Linked DNA regions of Homo sapiens: regions 1, 2, 3, 4, 5 and 6 are each linked to region 7. The links are contacts of gene promoters, found by promoter capture Hi-C in blood cells and fetal thymus (Javierre and others, 2016). All regions are on one chromosome and are shown on one strand. Each heading gives the region's core, a stretch centred on a gene start or on the middle of the fragment in contact. The rest is flanking DNA. Distances are from core to core; before and after follow the strand shown.

The links. The method cuts DNA at HindIII sites, captures the fragments that hold promoters and counts their contacts. A CHiCAGO score of 5 or more calls a contact.
Region 1: a fragment that was not itself captured here is called in contact with the fragment with the promoter of CCDC171 in region 7 in 8 of 17 cell types (total B cells, activated CD4 T cells, total CD4 T cells and 5 more); the score reaches 11.4 in total B cells.
Region 2: a fragment that was not itself captured here is called in contact with the fragment with the promoter of CCDC171 in region 7 in 12 of 17 cell types (activated CD4 T cells, total CD4 T cells, total CD8 T cells and 9 more); the score reaches 12.2 in activated CD4 T cells.
Region 3: a fragment that was not itself captured here is called in contact with the fragment with the promoter of CCDC171 in region 7 in 1 of 17 cell types (activated CD4 T cells); the score reaches 5.6 in activated CD4 T cells.
Region 4: a fragment that was not itself captured here is called in contact with the fragment with the promoter of CCDC171 in region 7 in 6 of 17 cell types (non-activated CD4 T cells, activated CD4 T cells, naive CD8 T cells and 3 more); the score reaches 9.0 in non-activated CD4 T cells.
Region 5: a fragment that was not itself captured here is called in contact with the fragment with the promoter of CCDC171 in region 7 in 4 of 17 cell types (total CD4 T cells, M2 macrophages, non-activated CD4 T cells and 1 more); the score reaches 8.5 in total CD4 T cells.
Region 6: a contact is called between a fragment that was not itself captured here and the fragment with the promoter of CCDC171 in region 7, in 2 of 17 cell types (M2 macrophages and fetal thymus). The highest score is 5.1, in M2 macrophages.

The regions. Positions count from the first base shown.
Region 1 is chr9:15,228,523-15,231,953 of GRCh38, reverse strand. All of the region lies in intron 2 of TTC39B (tetratricopeptide repeat domain 39B), which reads left to right. Among named protein-coding and RNA genes, the nearest start is that of TTC39B, 77 kb to the left of the region's middle. The HindIII fragment of the contact is 3,048 bases long and covers 337-3,384 here.
Region 2 is chr9:15,210,596-15,213,810 of GRCh38, reverse strand. TTC39B (tetratricopeptide repeat domain 39B) reads left to right here. Exons shown (of 20, transcript NM_152574.3): 5 at 2,414-2,545. Among named protein-coding and RNA genes, the nearest start is that of TTC39B, 95 kb to the left of the region's middle. The HindIII fragment of the contact is 2,730 bases long and covers 249-2,978 here.
Region 3 is chr9:15,169,085-15,172,723 of GRCh38, reverse strand. It overlaps TTC39B (tetratricopeptide repeat domain 39B), which reads left to right. Exons shown (of 20, transcript NM_152574.3): 20 at 615-3,639. The coding sequence ends at 705. Among named protein-coding and RNA genes, the nearest start is that of TTC39B, 140 kb to the left of the region's middle. The HindIII fragment of the contact is 2,268 bases long and covers 421-2,688 here.
Region 4 is chr9:15,193,024-15,196,736 of GRCh38, reverse strand. The region is part of intron 8 of TTC39B (tetratricopeptide repeat domain 39B); the gene reads left to right. Among named protein-coding and RNA genes, the nearest start is that of TTC39B, 110 kb to the left of the region's middle. The HindIII fragment of the contact is 5,285 bases long and covers 1-3,713 here.
Region 5 is chr9:15,151,648-15,154,873 of GRCh38, reverse strand. All of the region lies in intron 2 of LOC124902123 (a long non-coding RNA gene), which reads right to left. Among named protein-coding and RNA genes, the nearest start is that of TTC39B, 150 kb to the left of the region's middle. The HindIII fragment of the contact is 985 bases long and covers 823-1,807 here.
Region 6 is chr9:15,103,528-15,107,133 of GRCh38, reverse strand. No RefSeq gene overlaps it. Among named protein-coding and RNA genes, the nearest start is that of FREM1, 190 kb to the right of the region's middle. The HindIII fragment of the contact is 2,848 bases long and covers 1-2,836 here.
Region 7 is chr9:15,551,430-15,555,104 of GRCh38, reverse strand. CCDC171 (coiled-coil domain containing 171) reads right to left here and starts at 2,062. Exons shown (of 26, transcript NM_173550.4): 1 at 1,803-2,062. RefSeq lists enhancers at 1,755-1,924, 1,820-2,465 and silencers at 2,205-2,294, 2,305-2,364. The HindIII fragment of the contact is 6,396 bases long and covers 1-3,393 here.

The DNA of each region.
Region 1 (3,431 bases), core at 611-3,110, 320 kb after region 7:
CTCTGCAGGATTTGAGAGGGCTCCACTGGCTTGATGGATACCATTTCGACTCTAGATTACAAACATGGTGGCTTCCAGAGCACATCAGTTGGCCTATCTACACTCATTCCTTTTCTCCCCTAAGGAGAGATTTTAACGTTGATGGAAAACCTTGAAGGACATATTTTTATTCATTTTTGAAATTTTATTTTAGTTTTAAATATGGACTAGCTTTTATCTCATTGCGCAGGAACATAACATATTGTGTTGGATTTATTGGGGAAGTTAAATTTGAATTGGCTCTGCTATCTATGATTTGATTGAGAGAAAAAGTATAAACAAAGATAGCTGTAAGCTTTACCCTCGAAAATAGTTGTACCTAGTGATTAAAATTAGAGCAGTATTCAAATGAATAATAAAAAGATAAGTAACTCAATTAAAAATGGGAAAATAATCTGAATAGACATTACTCCAAAGAAGACATACAATTGGCCATTAAGTACTTAAAAAAGATTCTCAACATTATTAGTCATTAAGCAAATGCACACCAAAAACTACAGTGAGATACCACCATATCTCATGGACAAAAACAAGTATTGGCCAAGCTGTTAAGAAATTGGGAATCTAGTACATTATTGGTGGGAATATAAAATCACATAGCTGGCCGGGCATGGTGGCTCATGCTGGTAATCCAAGCACTCTGGGAGGCTGGGGTAGGAGGATTGCTTGAGCCTAGGAGTTCAAGACCAGCCTGGGCAAGATGGCAAGGCACCATTTCTACAAAAAATAAAAATTAAAAAAATCGGAAAAATCACACAGCCACTTTGGAAAACAGTCTAGTAGTTCTTCAAAATGTCAAACATAAAGTTACCACATAATGTAGCAATTCCACATACCATAATTTAGCATTCCATAGCAATGCTAGATATATAATTAAGAGAAATGAAAATACATGTCCACACAATAACTTGTTTGTTTTTTTTTTTTTCTGAGATGGAGTCTCACTCTGTCACCCAGGCTGGAGTGCAGTGGCACAATCTTGGCTCACTGCAACCTCCGCCTCCCGGGTTCAAGCAATTCTCCTGCCTCAGCCTCCCGAGTAGCTGGAATTACGGGTGTGCACCACCATGCCTGGCTAATTTTTGTATTTTTAGTAGAGATGGAGTTTTGCCATGTTGGCCAGGCTGGTCTTGAACTCCTGACCTCAAGTGATCTGCCCTCCTCGGCCTCCCAAAGTCCTGCTGGGATTACAGGAGTGAGCCACCATGCCTTGGCCAAGAACTTGTACATGAATGTTCATAACAGCATTATTCGTAATGGCCACAAAATGCAAATTATTCATATATTATCAACAAATGACTAACAAAATGTGGTATAGCTATACAATGGAATAATATTAGGTAATAAAAAGGAATAAAGTACTGTTACATGATACCACATGAATGAATCTTGAAAACATGCTAACTGAAAAAGCCAAGCATAAAGACCATACTTTTTATGATTCCATTGATATGAAATGTCCAGAATAGGCAAATCTATAGACACAAAAAGTAGATTAGTGGTTGTTTAGGACTAGAGGAGGTGGAGTGGAGAATGAGGAGTGACTGCTAATATATGGATACATTTTGGTGACAAAATATTATAAAATTAGATTGTGGTGATAGTCTGTGAATATACTAAAAACCATTGATTGTAAACATTAATTGGGTGAATTTTATGGTCTGTGAATTAGGTCTGAATAAAGCTGTTTAAAAACTTAAAAGTTAGAGCCGTTAAAATAGGGCAAAATAAGGGCATATATTCCAATGTACTAATAGCTGTAATTGAAGTTTGGTGTGTTATTTTTCGTAGCCTCCAGTATAAAGATTTAGCATGGCTCTTTTGCAAGGGTACATGCATATCAGTGCAGTGTTCAGATATTAAAAGCCTTTATTGAAGGAAATAAGAGAAGACCTGAATAAATGTGTAAAGATGTGAAGATGCAATGTTATAAAGACAACAATTCTCTGTAGATTTCCTAATAATGTAATGAATTCCCAGTCAAAACTCCAGCAGGACTTGCTTGTAATATTATAATGACTAACTCTGAAATTCATAAACAAGAATGTAGGTGTAATAATAACAACCCCACAAAAAGAGTGTTTAATAAAGTAGAGAACTTGCCCCAGTTGGCTTACAGGTCTCGGAAAGCCATGATAATAAAAACGGTGTGACTAGTGCAGAGAGAGGCAAATATGTGATGGAACAAAAGAATGCCCAGAAACAGACCTGAGCACGTATGGAAAATTGCTGTGTGTAAGAGATTGCAGAATAATCCAGTATGTCAAAGTATCATAATTATGGAATCAACGCATGTCAGTGAGGAAATCAGCAAGATGGTAAACCTGGTAACAGCATTTGGAGAACTGAGGAAAGAAAAAGTGTTGAAATAAGGTTTGTTATGCACAACACTGGTTAACCTCCGGCAAGGTAATAAAACCATAATCTTACCACACAGAAATTATTTGCATATCTACCAGATTAAAAAATCTACAAGTTAACATAATTTTACAGAGTATAGGTTTTAATAGTAAATAGCAAGCCAAACAAGATATATACTCCCTAGGGAATTAAATGTTCCTTGGGTGGGCCTGTCAGACAGTGCTCCAAGGTGACCTTGAGAGGACATGCAGTCTTCCTTTTGCCTTGTTTCCAAGCTCTTATAACAAGTAGATGAGTTATTTCTTGCTTATCCATGCAGGAAAGAATTAAATGTAGCTCAGACTGTACACAAAAATGGATTCTAGATTATATTTGTGTGTTTGCAATAGTATTTTCTCTACTTTATGTATTTGAAGCATTTCTTATTAATGAAATGAGAAAATGCATTCTTAAAACACTAGACAGTACTTTCAATAAATGGGTTATGTCTATATCTAAAAAAATCCTGTTTAATAAAAAAATTAGTTTGTGGCATGATATGCTTATTGTGATATTAACATAAATCTAGAAATACTGTAGAATTTCCATGAATTCGTGTACATGTGTATACAAACATAAAGAACTTGAAGAATCTGAATCTAATCTTTTATACCTCAGAAAAGATGAATAAAATGTAACATTATTTTGTTAATAATTATTATATTCTGCTAAAGTCAAGTCTGTTGTGCCAGGTAAAGATACAATAATTTTAGCTTTTATTAACAGATTAATTTAGGCACAGTAATATTTTAACTAGTTTGTTTGAGCATAAGTGATTCCTGAATTGAATATCATTAGAACACAAGCAGTTCAGTGTTCTACTTAAGGAGTGGGAGGGGGAAACTTATGAAGTATTTAAAGAAGCAAGACAAATAAAATACTTGACTGGAACAAGTGGGAAGTTCTTAGTTAGAGGTGAGTTGGCGGTTTCTGATTGGCTAAGCTTAAGTTTTGTTTTTACTGTTTACGGTGAGTTGAGTTTCCATTTGCTC
Region 2 (3,215 bases), core at 364-2,863, 340 kb after region 7:
TTTTCCTTTGAAATGGGGAGGGGAAAAACCAGAATATGCTGATCTCAATGCTATTAAGAAATTTAAGATAAGAAGACTATTATTGGGGTTCTCTATTTGTTCGAAAAACAAGCAATTTAATTTCAATTAATAGTACCTGTTAAGTTTTCAGATGTGGCAATAAAACCTGTGCTTGCCTGTTTACTCGGCCTTTGTCTTGACAAGAATAATCGTACATTGTGCCCTCAAACACTTGCTTAGATGAAGCTTAGACCTCATATGATAATTTCCAAGATTACTTGGGCATAAAAGTCGGCAATCTCGTTCCTTACTTTGAGTGGTTACCAGGGTGACTGGACTCTGGTCATGTGAATCTTAGAGATTGATTGACCTGCTGAGGAGCTGCTATGGTAATTGTGTTAAGATTTAGAATAGCTGTAATCAAGATGGGTCAGCTATTGTTTCACAGGTTAAGAACAAATGATGAAATCGATAATGAAGCCCTGTAGTCTAAGGAAATTTTCCAGTGTTGTCTTCAATATTTGCCTCACAATCTCCACCTTGCCTGTCCTCTGCTTTTTTCCTTCTGTCCTCCTCTGTCCCTCAGACTTCTTTGTCTCCTGTCTCTACCTCCTTTTGTCTGCTTGTCTTTCCCTCTCTCAGTCTCTCCTTCTCTTTTCTCAGCCTACTTGCCTGTCTTCTTTGGGTTTTTAAATGCTTTTATTGATGAGCCATAGTTGTACCTATTTTTGGAGTACATGTGATAATTCCTTACCTGTATACAGTGTTCAGTGATCGATCAGGTTAACTGGGTTATCCATCACCTCAAACATTTATCTGTTCTTAGTGTCAGGAACATTTATAATTATTCTCTTCTAGCTATTTTGAAATAATGATAAATTATTGTTAATTATAATTTCTCTATTATTAAATACTAGAAGTTATTGCTTCCATTTAACTGTATTTTTGTATCCATTATCTCCTTTGATTTTTATTCAAACGAGTCTTTCTCTGCCACTGACACACAGCTGGTCATAACATGGAATGAAAATAGGTGATTTAGTGTTGTGTTCAGTCAGGTTAGTCTCCGATTTTTGTACATGTTTCAGTGTTTAAATGGCTCACGCCTGTAATCCCAGCACTTTGGGAGGCCGAGGCAGATGGATCACCTGAGGTCGGGAGTTCGAGACCAGCCTGACCAACAGGGAGAAACCCTGTCTCTACTAAAAATACAAAAAATTAGCCAGGCATGGTGGTGCATGCCTGTAATCCCAGCTACTCGGGAAGCCGAGGCAGGAGAATCACTTGAACCCGGGAGGCGGAGGTTGTGGTGAGCCGAGATTGTGCCATTGTACTTCAGCCTGGGCAACAAGAGCGAAGCTCTGTCTCAAAAAAAATTAAATAAATAAAAATACTTTTCCCTCACTTGAATCATTTTTTTTTTTTTTTTTGCTTCTTGAAAGAGCTTTCAGTTAAAAATGTGAGGTTTGAAACCACAATTAATGATTAACTTTGGGCTGCTCTGATTCCTTGTGGTTCTTTTGAACAGATAGTGCCCTCAATGTTCAGGACAAGCTGCAAATTACCAAAGGATGTTTAGACTATTTCCATGGAGGCAAAGAATAATGTGGCTTGCATTTGTTTTGCATGGCAGCAGGCTGTTATGCATTAATATTTAAATTAAAAACAAAACCATGCATTACCATTTTAAACCTTATAAATAATTAATACAGCTTAAGAAGTTTTGAGAAAATAAATGATGTTCTCATAGCCCGAGAATCTGGATGTCTGCCATCTATTAGGACTAGTTCTAGTTAACATCCTTAAGAATCCTGAAGCAGTTCTCACTGTAACTTGATGATTTGAAATATCAAGAACTTTAATCAGGAACTTCAGATAATGGGATTAGACTAGATACAAGGTCTGACAACTACTTTGGTCATGGCTCTTGTGACCAGCCTAACTTATTCCAAAATCTTGTTTGCTCTTGGCCTTTGGCTGGCGAGGAGAGGGATTATTTTATATAAGCCTTTATTTTTGAAAAAATATATCAGAATCTCTCTGTCAAAAAATACATTTCCAGCGGCCTTTATTTTAGCACTTATTTCAGAGCCAAAGGCCGTGTGCTGCCCCTTTTTCAACAGAAAACAGTTTGCTTGCAATCTGCCTGCAGGCTGCCCTCTTGTGTTGAAATAGGGAAATGCATATTGTCCCCTTCAACCTGGAACATTTTGTTCTGCCTGTGTGGGTTTACATTGGAAAGTCCTTGGTACTTGAGTTTTTAAGAGGTTACTTTTCACCACCCATATAATTTCAGTGATTATGGTGAAGGAATAAAGGTTACTGTGCAAGTCAGGACATGCATTTACTAGGATTTCTTATGATCAGTATTTCCATTGAATTAAAATGTCTGAATTCCCTGTGTTCTTCCCAGGGCTAAGGAGAGTATGTACCATGCCTTGGGCTACAGTACCATTGTGGTGTTGCAGGCTGTCCTGACCTTCGAGCAACAGGACATCCAGAACGGCATTTCTGCCATGAAGGACGCTTTACAAACCTGCCAAAAGTATGACGAGTCATTAAATACTTAAGATGTGACTGCAAACTTTTATGCCTGTGTGACAAAAATAATGTCATTTGCCTGACCAAAAGCTCTGTGTTTGAAATTGGCCACAGTTACAGAAAAGAAATTCAGCCTCGAAGCTGAAGGATTCCCATTTGGCATCTACATATTCCACTTTTCTTTTTGATAGCCTGGGGTCTGAGCTACAGAGATCTGGGGGGGATTTCGGGGGGATTTCAGTGGGATTAGCAGCAAGCATCTCTCAATGTAGATGACATTAGGTACTGCATGCCAAACCAAGCCACACAAGGAACATTCTTGTTTTAAGTGGGAGATGCAAATTCATGAGGGAATGTTTTATTTGTTTAAGAAGGACCTGTTTTTGAACACTTTTGTTTGGTGAAAATGAGATAGATTTTTAGTTTTATTTTAAGCTTTACTTTGTGTGTATAGGAAGACCCTATCAAAATTTTTTTCAAGGGGTAAGTTATTTTGATATCTTTTAAAAAATGATAGGTGTTTCACAGTATGGAAGATGCTTGGTTTGTGGACATTTAGGAATATTCAAGAATCCAGGAATGGCTGGCTGCAGCACCCTGATCAGATGGATGGGAGGAAATGACCCCTGTTGCTGTCAATTGCTTGATGTGCCCCCCATAGGACTAGGGCAGAA
Region 3 (3,639 bases), core at 305-2,804, 380 kb after region 7:
ATTCTGGTAAAGGGAGGTCAACATAAATGCTCTTAGGCAGGTTTTAAATAATCTTTGGATTTCTATGGCCCCCTTTAAAGACATTGGCCTAATTCTTATGTAATTATTGGCCAAACCATTGATATTTACATGTGAGAATTGGAATAAGTAATTTTGACGTCATTAAGTAATTCTGCTGCCTTTGTTGCAGTTGTTTCATTTGAGTTTCTTGAGTGATCGATCATGTGATCATGCTAACCATGTTTATATGCACCTACCTTAAAATTTTCCAATTTAAAAAAGGAAGTCTAATTATTTAGGACTAGTTCACAAAATTTGTACAGCCCTTCTCACAACTTCTTGCTATGCTTGTGAATGATTTGGTAATTAAGCAGAACCTTGCTACTCAAAGTATGACCTTTAGATGACCACCAGGAAGCTTCTAGAAATGCAGATTATTGCAGTTCCCCCCAAAACCCCCCAACAGAACCAGAATCTGCATTTTACTAAGATCTACGGTTATGTATATTAGAGTTTGAAAGTAAGTAAGTAGATCAGAGAGAGGAATGGGAGAGTGGTGGTACCTGGTATATAAGGAAATTTTGACTGTACAATTTTATTGTTATTGTCTTCAGGAACAACTACAAAGATTACTCCCTGGAGTCCAGACTACACTTCAGAATTCAGGCAGCTCTTCACCTCTGGAGAAAACCTTCCTCAGATTGATCAGAACTTGAAGGATGGAATTTTTCCTCAATTAGCATCGGCATCTGCTATAGATTCAACCTTATATTAAAGTGGAAAAATGATCTTGTGAATAAGAGACAAAAAAACAGTTTTTTTGGTCAATATTTTCTATCATCTGAGAGATTTACTGTTGGTCTACATAATTTTTTTTCCTATGGAATGGCATTCTATATTATCTAGAAAATTCTTATATTTTGCCTCCCCCAAAAGAATTTCATATTATTTGAATTAGGGGGCGAAGAAGTCTTTTGAAAGACTTGCAGATGCAATAGTCTAATTAGATTATTTATTTTTTTAATGTGAAAATTAATATTGTTTAGCAAATAGCTTACAAGTTGAGCCAATTTTGGATTTGTTGGGTAGTTAAACTTCAGAGATATTTTGTTGCCTGTATTTAAATTTCAGAAGATAAATAAATATCATTGCATTTAAAATAGCTTAACAGTGACCTTCAGAAGACTTCTGAAAAAGACAGTCTGAGAACATGAACACGGATCGATATAATGTACTTCATGGGTTGAAGAGACCTTTCTCTATAAAGGATGATGCAGTATTCAGTTAGTGGTTTTTTACTCTTCATTTGATTAAAGGTGGTGACGTTTTGGAGAGACTGATTTTGAATGTACTTAAGTCTATTATAATAACAAAATTCAAAACCCCTGTGTATCTAAAGGGAAGGAAGTGTCATATTTTAGGAATTTTTCTTAACCTTAGCAATGAGAGCCTAAAATACATACATGGATTATTTTTCTTCTAGGAAGTAAATTTCCTGCTGCTTTAAATGATATGTAAAATATCAATAATTTTTACACTTAAGATGTTGGTAAGACCTAGTTTTCTAATCTCTCTAGCACTGTGATGTCTCCTTGTAGATAATCTGGACCTTGCTTAGTCCTTTAGTTGGGAAACAGAATCAGGGCATAGAGCAGAAGAGAGCTTGACACTCCATATGGTCCTGGTTCTGCTACCCATTAGCGATTAGTGAGGAGACCTTTAGGGAGTCCACTGTGCCCTGTGTGTCACCACATTTTCTTCTGTGAAATCAAGATTAAAGAACAGATGACTTTCAAGGTCTTTTTCAGTTTTATAACTGTGAGTCTATGTATTAGGTATTTATTTTCAACAAATGACTTTAAAATGTCGAATGCAAACCATTCCCACTTGGAGTGTTTTATTTTTCAATCATCATCATTGCCCCCAACTCCCCACATGTATGTGTTGTGGCATCCAGAGTGAGAAAAGACAATTTATGAGTTGATGAATCTGGGCCTTATTTCTATTTCCATTTTGAAGAATAACTTGTCATAGAAGCCTCTGCAGTTTAACAGAAGGAGCCACATATTGGGAGTCACGAGTTCATCTCTGTGGGTTAATAGTTCCATGACACGGAGTACGTAGCTCAGCTTTTCAGGGGTTCAGTTGCCCCACTATGGATAGCGGTGTGGTATTTGGTACTTGTGAGGGCTCAATTAGATAAAACATATGATAGCTTTTTGTAAACTGTAAAAGGCTATACAAAAGTATGAATTATTATAATAATTATGGTTTTTTATGTCTGGATTACAGTATCAACACAAAAGTATTGGCTGATACTGTGGTTTGTGTTGTAAAATGAAAGAAGTGTAGAAATTCAAATACCTTACTGTGTATTCATGTGTTTGATGTTGACAGTAGGCTACCCAGGTTATATGAACCTGCTCCTGCCGTTCCCTGCCACATGGACCTGTATCAAGCAGTGTGTGGCTTGTTTTCTTCAAGGTACTGATTCTTGACCAACACTGAGGATGTATATCCAATGAAAGATAGATATCAATGGCGGTAGATATCAATGTGTTATTAGTAATACAACTTTAGGTACAGACAAAATAGAAAATAAAATTAACTGTCATTATAATTAGTAGTGGAAAATACATTAAAAATTATTTGTGTATAGCTTTGGAAAAAAGTTTTCCAAAAAAAGCTTTTTGGAAAAAAGCTCTTAGAAGAGCTTTGGTAACATTATTTTTGAAAGCGCACACTCACATTGTGACTGTGGGTATACTGAGCATATATTCTTACATTGTTACTGTGAGAAGCTGCAAGTCAGTGCTGCAAGTCAGTAACAAATTCTCTTTTGGGGATAAAATGAAACAGTTTTAAGCTTAGAGTGGCCATTTTTATTTTAACTCTGCATTACTAAACAAATATAAAAGAAATTCATCTCCATTTAAAAATCTTTTTTGTTATTTATATTTTGTTTTATTTTTGTTTCCTATTCTTTATGCAGTTACCTGATACTATGGACAGTATATCCAGTGGATCTTTTAGTACTGTAATATCAAAATGCTACAAATATTTATGTTTCCTGCTATGTTCAAGATATTGTAGTGGCACCAACTTCTTGGGCATCAGCTAATATTGCATTTTGGAGTCATTAGGGTGTTCTGTGAAGAATGAATACTGAAGTGACAGTTTTATCTAGTTTTTTGAGGGGCATTTATGATGGGGTTGGGTTGCCATTGTGTCTGACAGTGCAATTCATGTAGTTCCTGGCATAATTGCCTTTTTTTTTTCCTTAATGGAGAGGCAGGGTTCTGATTGGTGCTGTATAAATTTAAGTAACTTTGTGCTTTGTAGGAATGGTGACAAGGAAGGCATGATTTCCCCCTGACAAGGAATGAAAGGTGAACTGTATCAGCTCTTATCTGGACATATATGTTAATGTTTTCTATGCTCCCTGATACAAGAAGTTTCCAAGTTATATAGGAAAATTAAGTCCATTGATCCTGTCTTTATCCTCAGAGGGCAGAAATGAGACAAGTGGATAAAGGCTGTAGGAAGCTGAATTCCAGATTAATCAGTGCCGAGGAAGATTTTTCATTATCGGAAAACCCAACAGTCTAAAATCAATAACCAGTTCTTCTGCAAAGGGGT
Region 4 (3,713 bases), core at 234-2,733, 360 kb after region 7:
AGCTAAGTTTATTTAATATTCCAAATCCTTTGTTGTCATTTCAACAATGTTTGTGGCATCTTTACCGGGAATAGATTTCATCTCAAGAAACTGCTTTCTTGCTCATCCATAAGAGGCAACTCCTCATCCATTAAAGTGTCATCATGAGATGGCAGCAGTCAGTCTCATCTTCAGGCTCCACTTCTAATTCTAGTTCTCTTTCTGTTTCTAACACCTCTGTAGTTACTTTCTCCACTGAAGTCTTGAACCCCTCAGAATGATCCATGAGGGTTGAAATCAACTTCTTCCAAACTCCTGTTAATGTGGACATTTTGACTTCCTTCCATGAATCACGAATGTTCTCTATGATAGGTAGAATGATGAATCCTTTCCAGAAGGTTTTCTGTTTCCTTTCCCTGGATCCATTAGAGGAATCACTATGGCAGCAATAGCCTTATAAAATGTACTTCTTAAATAATAAGACTTGAAGGTCAAAATTACTTCTTGATCCATGGGCTGCAGAATGGATGTTGTGTTAGTAGGCATGAAAACAATATAATCCTTGCATACATCTCTTTCAGAACTCTTAGGTGACTAGGTGCATTTTCAGTGAGCAATAATACTTTGAAATAAATGTTTTTTTCCCTGAGCAGTGGATCTCAACAGTAGGCTGAAAATATTTAGTAAACCATGCTGTGAATAGATGTGCTATCATCCAGGCTTTGTTGTTTTAATTATAGAGCACTGGCAGAGTAGATTTAGGACAATTGTTAAGGGCCTTAGGATATTTGGAATGGTAAGTGAACATTGGCTTCCATTTAAAGTCACCAGTTCCATTAGTCCCTAACAAGAGTCAGCCTGACCTTTGAAGTTTTGAAGCCAGGCGTTGACTTCTCCTCTCTAGATATGAAAGTTCTAGATAGCATCTTCTTCCAATAGAAGGCCATTTTGTCTACATTGAAAATTTGTTGTTTAGTGCAGCCACCTTCGTCAGTGATCTTAGCTAGATATTCTGGATAACTTGCTACAGCTTCTACATAAGCACTTGCAGCTTCACTTAGCACTTTTTTTTTTTTTTTTTTTTTTTGGAGATGGAGTCTCCCTTTGTCACCCAGGCTGGAGTGCAGTGGCACGATCTCAGCTCACTGCAACCTGCGTCTCCCAGGTTCAAGTGATTCTCCTGCCTCAGCCTCCCGAGTAGCTGAGGCTACAGGTGTGCGCCACCGTGCCTGGCTAATTTTTGTATTTTTAGTAGAGGCAAGGTTTCACCATGCTTGGCCAGGCTGGTCTCAAACTCCTGACCTCATGATCCGCCCACCTTGGCCACCCAAAGTGCTAAGATTACAGGTGTGAGCCACCGTGCCCGGCTGCACTTTTTTGTTATAGAGATGGTGTCTTTCCTTAAATTCATGAAACAACCTCTGTTAGCTTCCAACATTTTTTTCTTCAGCTTCCTCACCTCTCTCAGCCTTTATAGAGTTTAAGAGTTAGGGTCTTGTTCTGGATTAGGCTTTGGCTTAAGGGAGTGTTGTGGGTGGTTTGTTCTATCCAGACCACTACAGCTTTCTCCATATCAGCAACAGGGCTGTTTTGTTTTCTTATCATTTGTGCATTCACTGAAGTAGCACTTTTAATTTTCTTCAAGAACTTTTCTTTTGCACTTACAAGTTGACTAACTGTTTGGCACAAGAGGCCTAGCTTCCAGCCTGTCTTGGCTTTTGACATGCCTTCCTCACTACGCTTAATTATTTCTAGTTTTTGATTTCAAATGAGAGGTGCGAATCTTCCTTTCGCTTGAACACTGAGAGGCCACTGTAGAGTTACCAACTGGCCTAATTTCAATTTTGTTTTGTCTGAGGGAATAGGGAGGCCTGAGGAGGAGAGAGATGGAGGAACAGCCTATCAGTAGAGCAGTCAGAACACACACAACATTTATTGATAACTTTCGCTCTTATATGGGTGTGGTTCAGGGCACCCTGAAACAATTACTGTAATAGTAACATTTAAGATCTCCCATCACAGGTCACCATTAACAGATACAGTAATAACTAAAAAGTTTGGAAATTTTATGAGAATTACTGAAATGTGACCCTGAAACACAAAGTGAGCACATATTGTTGGAAAAATGGCATCGATAGACTTGCTCAACACAGAGTTGCCACAAATCTTCAATTTGTAAAAAATGCAGTATCCACAAATTGCAGTAAAACAAGGTATGCCTTTACATATCAGTGAAATGAACCACAGGGTTTTTTGAAAGAGACAGCATGTGTGTGTGTGCACACACATGGACTTACACACACACGCACATACTTACCTGGGAATTCAAAATATACTAAATTCCTTTATATAGATAGGCCCTTTCAAAACAGTGAAGAAAGATAGGTACTTTAGTAAATGTTTTTGGGAAAATTGTTCATTTTATAGAAAAATCATTAAGACGAAAAAAGTCCATATAGGTTTAATATTAAAAGATTTAAAAAGAATTCTAGCAGGAAACATAAGAAAGTACTTTTATAATTCTTAAATATAAAGGCTTTAAACTTTTTTGTTTTTTATTTTTTCACTTTGAAATAATTTGAAAATTATTACAAAAAATTTCCATCACTTGTATGGAAGATTGTAAATCGTCACTCAGATTTACAAATATTAATATTTTGCAGAAGCACAGTACAATTATTAAAATGAGGAAACTGACATGGATACAGTATTCATATTTACTCCATGGCCTTTACTCACATTTCTCCAGTTGTCTCATCAATGCCCTTTTTCTGGCTCAGGATCCAACCCGGGATCCTGGATATCGAGGTTAGCTGTCATGTCTCCTTAGTCTCTTTTCATTCGGAATAGTTCCTCAGTCTTTGTCTTTAATGATGTTGACATTTTAAAAGAATAAACTGGCCAATTATTTAGTAAAACATCTTTCAATATGGACTTTTCTAATGTTTCTTCATGATTAAATTCAGATTATGACTCTATGGCAAAAATACCTTAGAAATGATATCATTAGGTACATGATGTCAGTTTCAAAGGCCTTTTAACTATGGCATAAAATCAGAAATCAGAAGAAATTGATTGAGCTGACCAAATAAACATTCATCATTTTATCTTGGCAAAATGCACCATAATAAAAAATAAATGACCCAGGGGAAATGACAGCAGGGGATGCTTGTAGGCATCTGAATTGACTCTCTAAACCCTTACATTTTTTGTAAACTGGAAGTTAGGTCTATAGGCTTGCTAGATTCAGATTAAAAATATTTGGCTAGACTGGATCACAAGTGTAGTTGCACATTTTATAATTGCATCACACCAAGTGATTCATGATATCTCATTATTCCTTATTATTAAAAATATATTTGCCAATTTAATAAGCAATTCCCAGGTATTATCAATTTTTATATTTTTGTCATTGTTTTAATTTGTATTTCTTTGGTTAAATATTTGCCTTTTGAAGATGATGTGAACAGGCAAGAGAGAAATACATAGAAAGTAAAGTGAGAAGTTGGAAAGATTTTCATGGCTGGAGCAGGAAGAAAGCAGAGGACAGATGGGGCCATTGTGATGGCCTTTGCTTTCTTGTTTCAGTCTGTCCTGGTCCCAAGCCCTAATTTATTTGGTCTGTTTGAGACGATGGCAGTCACACTGAAATTCAGATCTTCTTGCCAGTAGCATTTCATTTCCTCAGGTTGCTGCAGTGTGTGCAGTGGTGGAGGAGCTGAGCGCTTGCAGGG
Region 5 (3,226 bases), core at 66-2,565, 400 kb after region 7:
AGCTTCATTCGTTTTAAGGGCTAGACCTTGTTCTTCAGCCATTTGGCAATCTGTGTATGGAGTACTGGATACAGTGTGGTTTAGTGCAGTGGTTCCCAGCTTTTCACATCTTAAATTCTACAAATCTTTTTTCGGGGAATGGGGAGGACGAGGTGGAGAGGCACCTGTTATTGCTGTCTAAGCAGAAAGTGAGATGGCGTGAGGGTGCGGGGAGGGACGGTATTGCAGATTGGAGCACTACCATGTACCTTTAGGATGCCCTCCTCCTCATCTTCCTAGATGAGCTCTGTGTCCCTAGACTTAGTTTACACAAACACACAAAAAATAGTAAGTGTCCATGATTTTGATTATCAAAATAATCCTTGGCTGGATAATCATTCTTGGGCGATATTGTTGGGGCGAATGAGGGGACTGAGGGAGCACAAAATCTCAATAACTGATGCTAAAACCCTGTGTCCCCCATTTGGTCATGGAGCAACAAGTCAATACCAGGTCAACAGAATCTTCTATACTTAAAATCCATTTTCGTGGCTCTTATACAAGCCACTGGGAAGCCCACACATTCAACATTTGTTCCATTTTTCCTTCCAGATTAACTTTATTTTTCCACATCCCCGATAGTGATTTTTCCATTAACATTTGATGCTCAATTTTCATTTTCCCTAACATTGGTCCCTGGAAGTCTTCCAAAATCTTAGGAAGCATAATAGATTTGATTTCATCTTGTTCCTTTCTCACCTGTTTTTTTTTTTTTTTAATAAAGCTGGTTTCTTTCTTTATTTGAGCAATCTTCTGCTCTCCAAAGGAAGACTCTTTAAAGCTTAGTCCAAAGGAAAAGACTCCTATTCCAAGGCCAGCAAATTTCTTCCTCCACGTGGCCTCTAGCAGCCAGCCAGCCACCAACTGGCCTCTTGTTACAGCCTTTTGTTGACTCTCTTATGGATGCTGCTAACAGTCTCTAGCTTTCCAGCCACTTTCAGCTCTTCTGACAGTAGCCCCTTTTTGGGAAGGACCTGGAGATGAGGCTAAGGCTGCGTTGTTCCCTATCTTTGTTGGATGTGTTGCAATAAAACAACACAGGTAATTCACATTTGAGCTGGAGATTAAACTCAGGTTGGGCTTCCAAGCTGTCACCTGGGACAGTCATTGAGGTTGTGCTTCTTTATCCTGGTTTGTGGCTTGGACGTTTGTTTAGCCTTAAAACAGGATTTCAAATGACCAAAGGAGATTCTGTTGGACTTTTCCTTGGCAAACTCAGGAAGGTATGTCGTGCTTTCAGTCTTCACTGGCTGAGAATGATAGATAGAAGGAAAGCTGGGAACCTCCTAGGCCTTTCATCCCATTCTGAAGTCTCTGGGTTCAGACCTCAGTTCGTGTGTAATGTGGACGATTGATGATTGCAATGGATGTCATTTTTGTTGTTATTCCAAGCAAATGTACACTTTTTTCTTCTCTATGGTATATTTTATTTGTTTTGTTATACCAAATTGTTCAAATAATGTTGAGTATCAATGACCGGGCACCTACTGAAATAGGAAGGGTTTTAAATGGTAGGCAATTATACAAAATTAAAAGGATGAAAATGGCAATTAATGGAAGAAACACAGATACCAAAAATGAAATATTAAGAAAAGAGTAGAAAGTCTGCCAATAGGACATTCCATTCTTTAGTTTGGGGAAAGGCCCTCATGCAACATTTTCTGTGCATTTCCAGTGGGCATAGGTGTCTAAGTTCTAAAACTTCTTTTCTAAGTAGGCCTAATTCAGAGAACCCAGCTTATTAGATATAAGTGCAAGAAAACAAGCTTTATAGCCATTTACCTCCACCCTTTGACTGAGTGGGGAAAGGGAAAAAGGAGGGAATTAAGGTCCCGGCACTCATGCTTCAAGGCCAAGAACTGCATTGTGGAGATCTGTCTGGGGAGGGTGGCTGTCACGCTGCAAACCTCAGAGGTGGGCACTGTCAGCCCCATCTGCTCAGGAGGGATAACAATGCTGCTGGTGGGACTTTGGGCAGATCATATAATAGCGTGGACCAGAGTCTGTTGTTTCCAGATGCCCCAGGGGAAGGCCAGAGAAAGGCTCCTTCTGAGTGAGGCTGACTGGGGGTAGTCAGAGCACTTATGTAGAGTGGCTAGGCTTTATTGGAGCAGACCAATACAAAAAAAGTACTAAAAAAACCAGTTTCACTAATAATTAAATGAAATTCCACTCACTGCACTTTAACCAATAAAATATCTTTGTTTTTTTTTTGTATACTAAACCCTACGTAGACTTGAACCAATTCAGAAGACAGTCTGTTGGCCAAAGGGCAAAATCCACAGCACCAGGTAGCATTTGCTTGAAGTTCCAAGGCACCACGAGAGATTGCTTTCCCCCAAGACTACCAAGGCAGTGTATATATGTGTGTGTGTTCTTGTATGCACACACAGCACACAAAGGACAAGTCTCTTTGCCTTGTGCAGAAATATTCTGATTGTTTCAAGATTGAATGAGCTTTCCCGCTTTCCCACTTTCCCACCTTGTCTTCCACCTGTGTGAAGTTCGTCCATGAGAGGGGTCTGCCCCACTGAAAATCTCCCATTTGGTTTTGGAGCTGCAGGAGCAGCAGGCTCAGGCAAGTGCTTCAATCCACTTTGCCAAGCTTTCTGCTGTACTCCAGACAACTTGGCATGCTGCAGCAGGGGCAAAACACTGACGTCCTCTTTTCCTTTTTTTTTTTTGAGATGGAGTCTTGCTCTTGTTGCCCAGGCTGGAGCAACCTCCGCCTCCTGGGTTCAAGTGATTCTCCTGCCTCAACCTCCCGAGTAGCTGGGATTACAGGTGCCCGCCACCATGCCGAGCTAATTTTTGTATCCCTAGTAAAGACGGAGTTTTGCCATGTTGGCCAGGCTGGTCTCGAACTCCTAACTTCATGATCTGCTCACCATGGCCTCCCAAAGTGCTGGGATTACAGGCGTGAGCCACTGTGCCCAACCCTCTTTTCCTTTTTCAAATGTCAATGGAAAGTTGATTGGAAAGGACAATTTGGCTACCTTTTGGTACCCTGCAGGATTACCTTTATATCAATCATTTGCTGATGCAGGGACTTTCAGAAATTTTGTGGTCTCTTGCAAACAGCCTTGGCAAAACATAGACCTTCAGTATGTGTTGAATGAACCCGTGGATTGCTGGTGTCAGAAGTCCTTTCGTGGACTTGCCTCTGCTGGGGACCTCAGGTTGTGTT
Region 6 (3,606 bases), core at 163-2,662, 450 kb after region 7:
GGTTAGGTTATTCCCAAGCATTTTATTCTTTTTGATATTATTATAAATGGAATCGTTTTCTTAATTTCCTTTTCAGATTGTCCATTGTTAGTATATAGAAATACAATGGGTTTTTTTGTGTCAATTTTGTATCCTGCAATTTATACTGAATTTATTAATTCTAACAAGGTTTCTTTTGGTGCGAAATCTTTAGAGTTTTTTACATATAAAATCGTGTCATCTGTGAACAGTGATAATTTTAACACCTTTCCAATTTGGATTTCTTGTATTTCTTTATTTATCTATTTTTTTTTTTGAGACAGAGTCTCGCTCTGTCACCCAGCCTGGAGTACTATAGCATGATCTCGGTTCACTGCAACCTCTGCCTCCTGGGTTCAAGCAATTCTCCTGCCTCAGCCTCCTGAGTAGCTGGGATTACAGACATATGCCACCACGCCTGGCTAATTTTTGTATTTTTAGTAGAGACGGGGTTTCACCATGTTGGTCAGGCTGGTCTCCAACTCCTGACCTCGTGATCCGCCTGCCTCGGCCTCCCTAAGTGCTAGGATTACAGGCGTGAGCCACTGCACCCGTCTGTATTTCTTTTTCTTTCCTAATTGTTCTGTTCTTGTTTAATTGTTCTGGCTATGACTTCCAATACTATGTTGAATAGGAGTGGGGAGAGCAGTTATTAAGCCTTTTTCCTTATCTTAGAAGAAGAGCTTTCAGTCTTTCACCATTGAGTGTAATGTTAGCTGTAGGCTTTTCATAAGTGGCTTTTATTATTATTTTATTTTTTTGAGACAGAGTCTTGCTTTGTTGACCAGGCTGGAGTACGGTGGCAGGATCTCAGCTCTCTGCAACCTCTGCCTCCCAGGTTCAAGTGATTCTCCTGCTTCAGCCCCCTGAGTAGCTGGGACTATAGGTGTGCACCACCACGCCTGCTAATTTTGTATTTTTAGTAGAGATGGGTTTCACCATGTTGGCCAGGCTGGTCTCGAACTCCTGACCTCAAGTGATCCACACGCCTCGGCTTCTCAAAGCATTGGGATTAGAGGCATGAGCCACTGTGCCTGGCCTCATAAATGGCTTTTCTTATGTTGAGGTAGTTTCCTTCCTGTCCAGGTTTATTGAATGATTTTTATCATGAAAGGGTGTTGAATCTTGTCAAATGTTTTTTCTCTATCAATTGAGATGATGATGTCATTTTTGTCTTCCATTCTGTTATTGTGGTATATTACATTGATTAAATTTTGTATGCAAAACTCTCCTTGCTTTTCATGAATAAGTCCCACTTGGTCATGGCATATAATCCTTTTAATGTGCTGTTGAACAGTTTGCTAGTATTTTCTTGAGGATTTTTACATCAATATTTATTAGGGATACTGGTTTGTAGTTTTCTTTTCTTGTAATTTCTTTGTCTGGTTTTGGTATCAGAGCCTAATAGAATGAGCTTAGAAGTGTTCCTCTTTAATTTTTTGGAAGAGTTTCAGAATTGATGTGAATTCTCTTGAAATTGACTTGAATTCTTCTTTAAATGTTTGGTAGAGTTCTCCAGTGAAGTCATCTGGTCCTGGGCTTTTCTTTGTGGAGAGATTTTTGATTACTGTTTCAATAATTTACAAGTTTCTGATCTCTTCAGATTTTCTATGTCTTCATGATTCAGTCTAGGTAGGGTGTGTGTTTCTAGGAATTTATCCATTTCTTTTAGGTTATCCAATTTATTGACATACAACTGCTGAATTGTTGTTTTGTTCTTCGTATAGCTTCTATCTCTGTTTGATATTCACATTTTGTTCATATGTTGTTTTTCTGATTTCATTTAGTTGTCTATCTGTTCTCTTTTAGTTTATTGAGTATCTTTATGACAGTTATTTTAAATTGTTTGTCAAATAACTCATACATCTGCATTTCTTTAGGGTTGGTTTATGTAGTTTTAGTTTGCTCCTTTGATTGGGTTATGTTTCCGTGTTTCTTTGTACATCTTGTAAATTTTTTTCTTTTTTGGCTGGGATTTGGGCATTTGAAAAAGCACCCACCTCTAACAGTCTGCATACTGGATTTGTTCAGGTGGAACCCGTCACCAGTCAGTCTACTTATCTGTTCAAGCACCTTTCAAACCTTTTCTGATCTCTTGCTCCCCCTGGCATCTGCCTGTAGAACTGCACATCTAATGTGCTGCTAGACTTTGTTTTCAGCAGCGTCTGATCCTGCCTCTGCTCTAAGTCAAGCAAAACCAGACTCTCAGACAGCCCCCCTACATGCCAGAACTTTGAGTGCAAAGTCTGCTCTTTTGTTTCTGTTCTGAGGAAGGACCCTCAGTTTGAAGATTTCCTCCCAATTTCTCCATACTATACTGTGAATGTGCAGAAGCATGAACTGGTGCACCAACTGCCATAAGGCTTTCTACCCCTTTTCTGGAATCCTTTCTTCATTTTACAATGGCCTGGGTGCTATAGCATCTCACCTGGTCTCTGGAGTTCTCACAGGGGCATTCTGGTCCATATACTGTTGTTAACTTGGTGTCTCTGTAGGGGAAAGAAGGGCCTGTAGCTTCCTAGTCCATCATCTTGCTAACATCACTCTGACACCTATTTCTTCTGCAGACATTTAGGAATCAAAACACTAGGTGATTATCAAGTCATATTGACTACAGCTAAAAAACAGTGCCTCTATGTCTACTACATGAATTAAGATAAAAAATATTGAGCATCAGTGTTTCTCCATGGAATCTATAGTGAAGAGGCTTTGGCTCCTAGAGAGTGGAACCAAGTAGGTAGAAAAGAATTTTCAATCCAGGGAGAATGAGAACAGCTGGAGAAGTAGGCAATTTTTCTAGCAGTTCATAGGGGAAGCTTCTAGAAAAACCTGCAAAGAACTCTGATTCATTTGATATCCAGGAAGTGGGGATTCTGAAGGATCTGCTTCAGTGGATCTGAGAATGTATCAGGCTGCCTATAGCTCTATCCAGGTGATCACAAGATCAAGGTGACATCTGTGCTAAGGGAGATTTGAAGAGCACCTCTTTAGTCAGCAGCTTATTGGAGGAAATGAATGTCTCCTAAAAGGAAATATCTAAGGAGATAGACCGTGTTCTATCAAAAAGCAAAATGTCAAAGGTATCATCAGAATATAGCATAGGTTGGAGAGATTCCCATCTTCGGAAGTATTTAAGCTGAGACAGAGAAATCAATTGACAGAGATGTGGAAGAATTCGTACTCTAGATGGAAGTACACCTATTAAGCTGTCTTAAAATTATCTGGGTCTGAATTTGTATGAACTTGGTGAAGGATTCTGATTCCTGATCATTTTATGTGGAAGCTAAAATCAGTGGAAGGGCTATAACATTTAGAACACCATGCAGTGTTGAAAAAGAGGTAATGAAACACATCAAGAAAAAATACTCAGTTTCCCCAGGTAGAAATATCTATCTGCATGGCACAGCCCTGATGGATTCAGCTAAAACTCGGAGGTTATATTTTTTGGTTTTTGCCTCTGTACTTCTTTTTGTGTATGTGTGTACATAACACATCAATACACTGTGGACAGATTTTCACAGACTATAAAGGCTTTCTGTCCACATGCAGGAAGTGGCTGACAATATCTTACTGAATAACAGAGGATAT
Region 7 (3,675 bases), core at 813-3,312:
TCTACTTTAGATTTCGGAGCCACTACTGGTAAAAAATTTTTCTACCTTACATCTGAGTCCTTCAGTTGGTCATCCCAAATGCACTCATCTTTCAGTGTGTCTGCACAGATCAGAGGAAAAACGAGGGATGGGTGGATGAAAAAATAGAAATTCCTATTATTGAGCCACTTACTATATGCCAGATACTGAGATCAGCATTCCTGATCTCATTTAATCCCAACATCTCTATGAGATTATGCACATTTCACAGATAAGAAAACTGAGGCTTGGAGATGTTGAATAATTTGTGTAAAAATATTCAGCCGGAAAATGAGAATTCAAATCCACATCTGGCTAAGTCCATCCTCTTTCACTACGCAGTGCTGTCTTCATTAGTAACCACACCTGTGTTGGAAGTGTTTCTCAGCATAGGTACATAATCAACCTTTAAAGGGGAAGTTTGGTTCTTACATCAAAACAAGACCAAGACCAAGGGACTGAGACAACCAAAACGTTTTAGAATCAAATGAGACTTTAGAGACTAAGTCCTTCCTCCTTATCTGACAGATAAAGAACCTAACGCCTAGGAAGGTTAGGTGGTTTGCCTGTGGGGACGCAGCTCATAAATGGCTGAGCCCCAAGACTAACACAGAAAGCTACAAACTAAGACTATGCCCTTCATCTTTCCTCTTAGCAGGTTGCACTGCCTTTGTTTCCTCTGCATTTTATGAAAAACCATGTTCATCTTCTGCTCTACCACTGTTTTGTTGAGAGTAGGAACTAACAGTTAAATAAAATAAGTGACATGCCGGGCGCAGTGGCTCACGCCTGTAATCCCAGCACTTTGGGAGGCCGAGGCGGGCGGATCACGATGTCAGGAGATCGAGACCATCCTGGCTAACACAGTGAAACCCCGTCTCCACTAAAAATACAAAAAAATTAGCCGGGCGTGGCGGCGTGCGCCGGTTGTCCCGGCTGCTGGGGAGGCTGAGACAGGAGAATGGCGTGAACCCGGGAGGCGGAGCTTGCAGTGAGCCGAGATCGCGCCACTGCACTCCAGCCTGGGTGACAGAGCAAGACTCCATCTCAAAAAAAAAAAAAAGTGACAAAATCGTATGTTCTTTTCTCCAATATTATGAAAACCATAAAACATCGGTATGTCATGTATTCAAAAGAGCTGGACACCAACTCTAATAAACAAAATAAAGACGTATTTATCTCATTTACCTAAAATGTATACATGAAATATGTATTTTCTTAGGATCAATATCATAATGGAATAAAAAAATTCAAAAAGTCGGCTCCATTTCTGCAGAAAATTTACAGCTTCGGGAAAACGCACAGCTGACTCAGATTCTAAGTCTCTCAGAGTCCTGGAGGGTAGGTAGAAGCTGCAGGTGACAGTCTAGCACAACTCATTCCCGTTTATCAAACATCTGTAGAGTGTCTAGTGTGTGGCCGGCATTTAAAAAGGGGAGAGCGGGCTGAAAGACGTGGTCCCTATCCTCGAGGGGCTTACTGATTCTCGGGAACGAAAGCGCTCCGCAGCAGTAACCCTAAGAAGCTCCAAATCCCGGTCCTCTGCCTCCCCTCTGGTCCCCATCCGGCGCTCTGGTACAGCCTCAGCGATCTCTGGCTAGGATGCTCCACGGAGATCTTCCTCCAGGTGGGCGGGGAGACCCAGCCCAGGGAGCTGGAGGCGTGCCCCAAAGCCTACGCCAACAGCCCCAGGGCCGCCCCAAACTCACTCAGGGGCCCCTACAACCCTCTCAACACCTCCCTCCCAAGTCGTCCGCCTCGAAGCCCCCACACCGTGCGGTTACCTCAGGGGTCTCGCGTGATCCGTGCTGCACACCCAAGACCCCAGGGGCCGCTCCAAGTCTCACGGGTGAAAGGAGGCCCAGGCAGCCCACGGGAATAAGAGCAAAAACTGTTGGAACACGACGGACTCCAGGACCCGGGAGGAGGGGGACAAACAGCAAAGGGGTACAGAAGGGGAAGAGCCCCCGGGAGGTGAAGTTTACAACTGCCACTTCCGGAGCTGAAAACACTCCGCTTCTCTCGCAGACCTTCCCAGACTTTCACAGGTCAGCCCAACTCAGGCCCGGCCCCACTTTTTCCTCCCGCCTCCCGCAGCCCTCAGCTTGCAGCTCCTGGATACGTACTCCGAGAACGCTGGCTCGGATTGGAAGAGCCCGCCCGCCAAGCAGCGCGCCTTCGCTGAGGGACGAACGGGCGCATGCGCCGTTGCTGGGGAGCGGCGGGCTCGCGACCGCACGCGCTCTCGCTCCAGGAGCTCCGCGTCCCCGCGCGGGGGTGCGCCCTGCCCACGCGCTGCTGTGGCTTTTCAGCGTGAGGTGTCCGCGTTCCTGTCTCAGTCGCCAGAGCCGAGTGGAAATGCAGATTTCCAGCTTCTAACCCCTTTTCCCTGCCTGCTGAATAAAAACCTAAGAGGTCGGATCCCAGATCCTGCTTTTTGAAACTGGTTCTTCTGCCCATCTTTAGAGCCACAGCAACGGTGGGCTGGTCCCGGGGCCTGGGGAGAAATTCTCTGGGCTCGGGTTCTGCCCAACTGCCTGGTTTACCTCTGTCTGGACAGCTCTCTGCCTGCACAGGGCATCCTGTCCCCTCTTCCCGTCCCCATTGTATCCCAGCTGGGAGTGGTGAGCAGGGTCGGAAGAATGCATTGATGCTGCTTGCAGTGCGTTTCATTATCAACATTACGTAACCAGGCACATCGTGGAAAACGCCTCGGAGCCTTAGCATGTGTGTTCCCTATCTCTTTCCTCGCTTCTCTCACTTTTCTCTGACACACACACACACACACACACACACACACACACACACACACACACCGTCCTCTTATTGATAATTTATACTTTGGTTCCTCCCGGTGGCTGCTTCACAATCTGCTGCCGCCTAAGGGAGACTGGAAAACCAACTCCTCTTTTGTTCCTTAACTTTTGAAAGCCTATTCTTCCAGAGAACAATGCAAATTGACAGGATTTGGTCAAAGATTTTTATCTTCACCACCACCACCTCCTCTGCACAAAAAGGTGTTTAATGCAAAACGAGCCTTCTATACTAAACTGGGTCCTTGTTGATTGTAATCAACCTGAAACCAGGTGTAGGGGCCGTCTTTTCTCTCTCCCATGGGAGAGCCAACGGTCATAAATGCAAACACAAATTGAGATTAAAACCTCCTTGATTCTTGTAGCACTGAAACCTTAATTGGTTTGATTTTAGTCATTTACATCTAAAACGGAGGCCTGTCCCTGATTCTTTTTACTAGAGCCATAAAGAGGACAATTGCTCCAGAGGAAATAAAGGGAAAAAATAGCCCACTCTAAAGTTTAGAAATGAAATGGAAAATTACAACTGACTAATGAGATTAGAACTTTTATGTTACAAGCTTTAAAAAATATTTTTAAATTTTATTTTTTTCTTTTTCTTTTTTTTTTTTTTTTTTTTGAAACAGGGTTGTTCTCTGTTGCCCAGGCTAGAGTACAGCGGCACAATCACGCCTCGCTGCAGCCTAGACCTTCAGGACTCAAGCCATCCTCCTGCCTCAGCCTCCTGAGTAGCTGGAACTACTTAAAATTTCATTTGTGTTGGCCGGGCGCGGTGGCTCACGTCTGTAATCCCAGCACTTTGGGAGGCCGAGGTGGGCGGATCATGAGGTCAGGGGACCGAGAC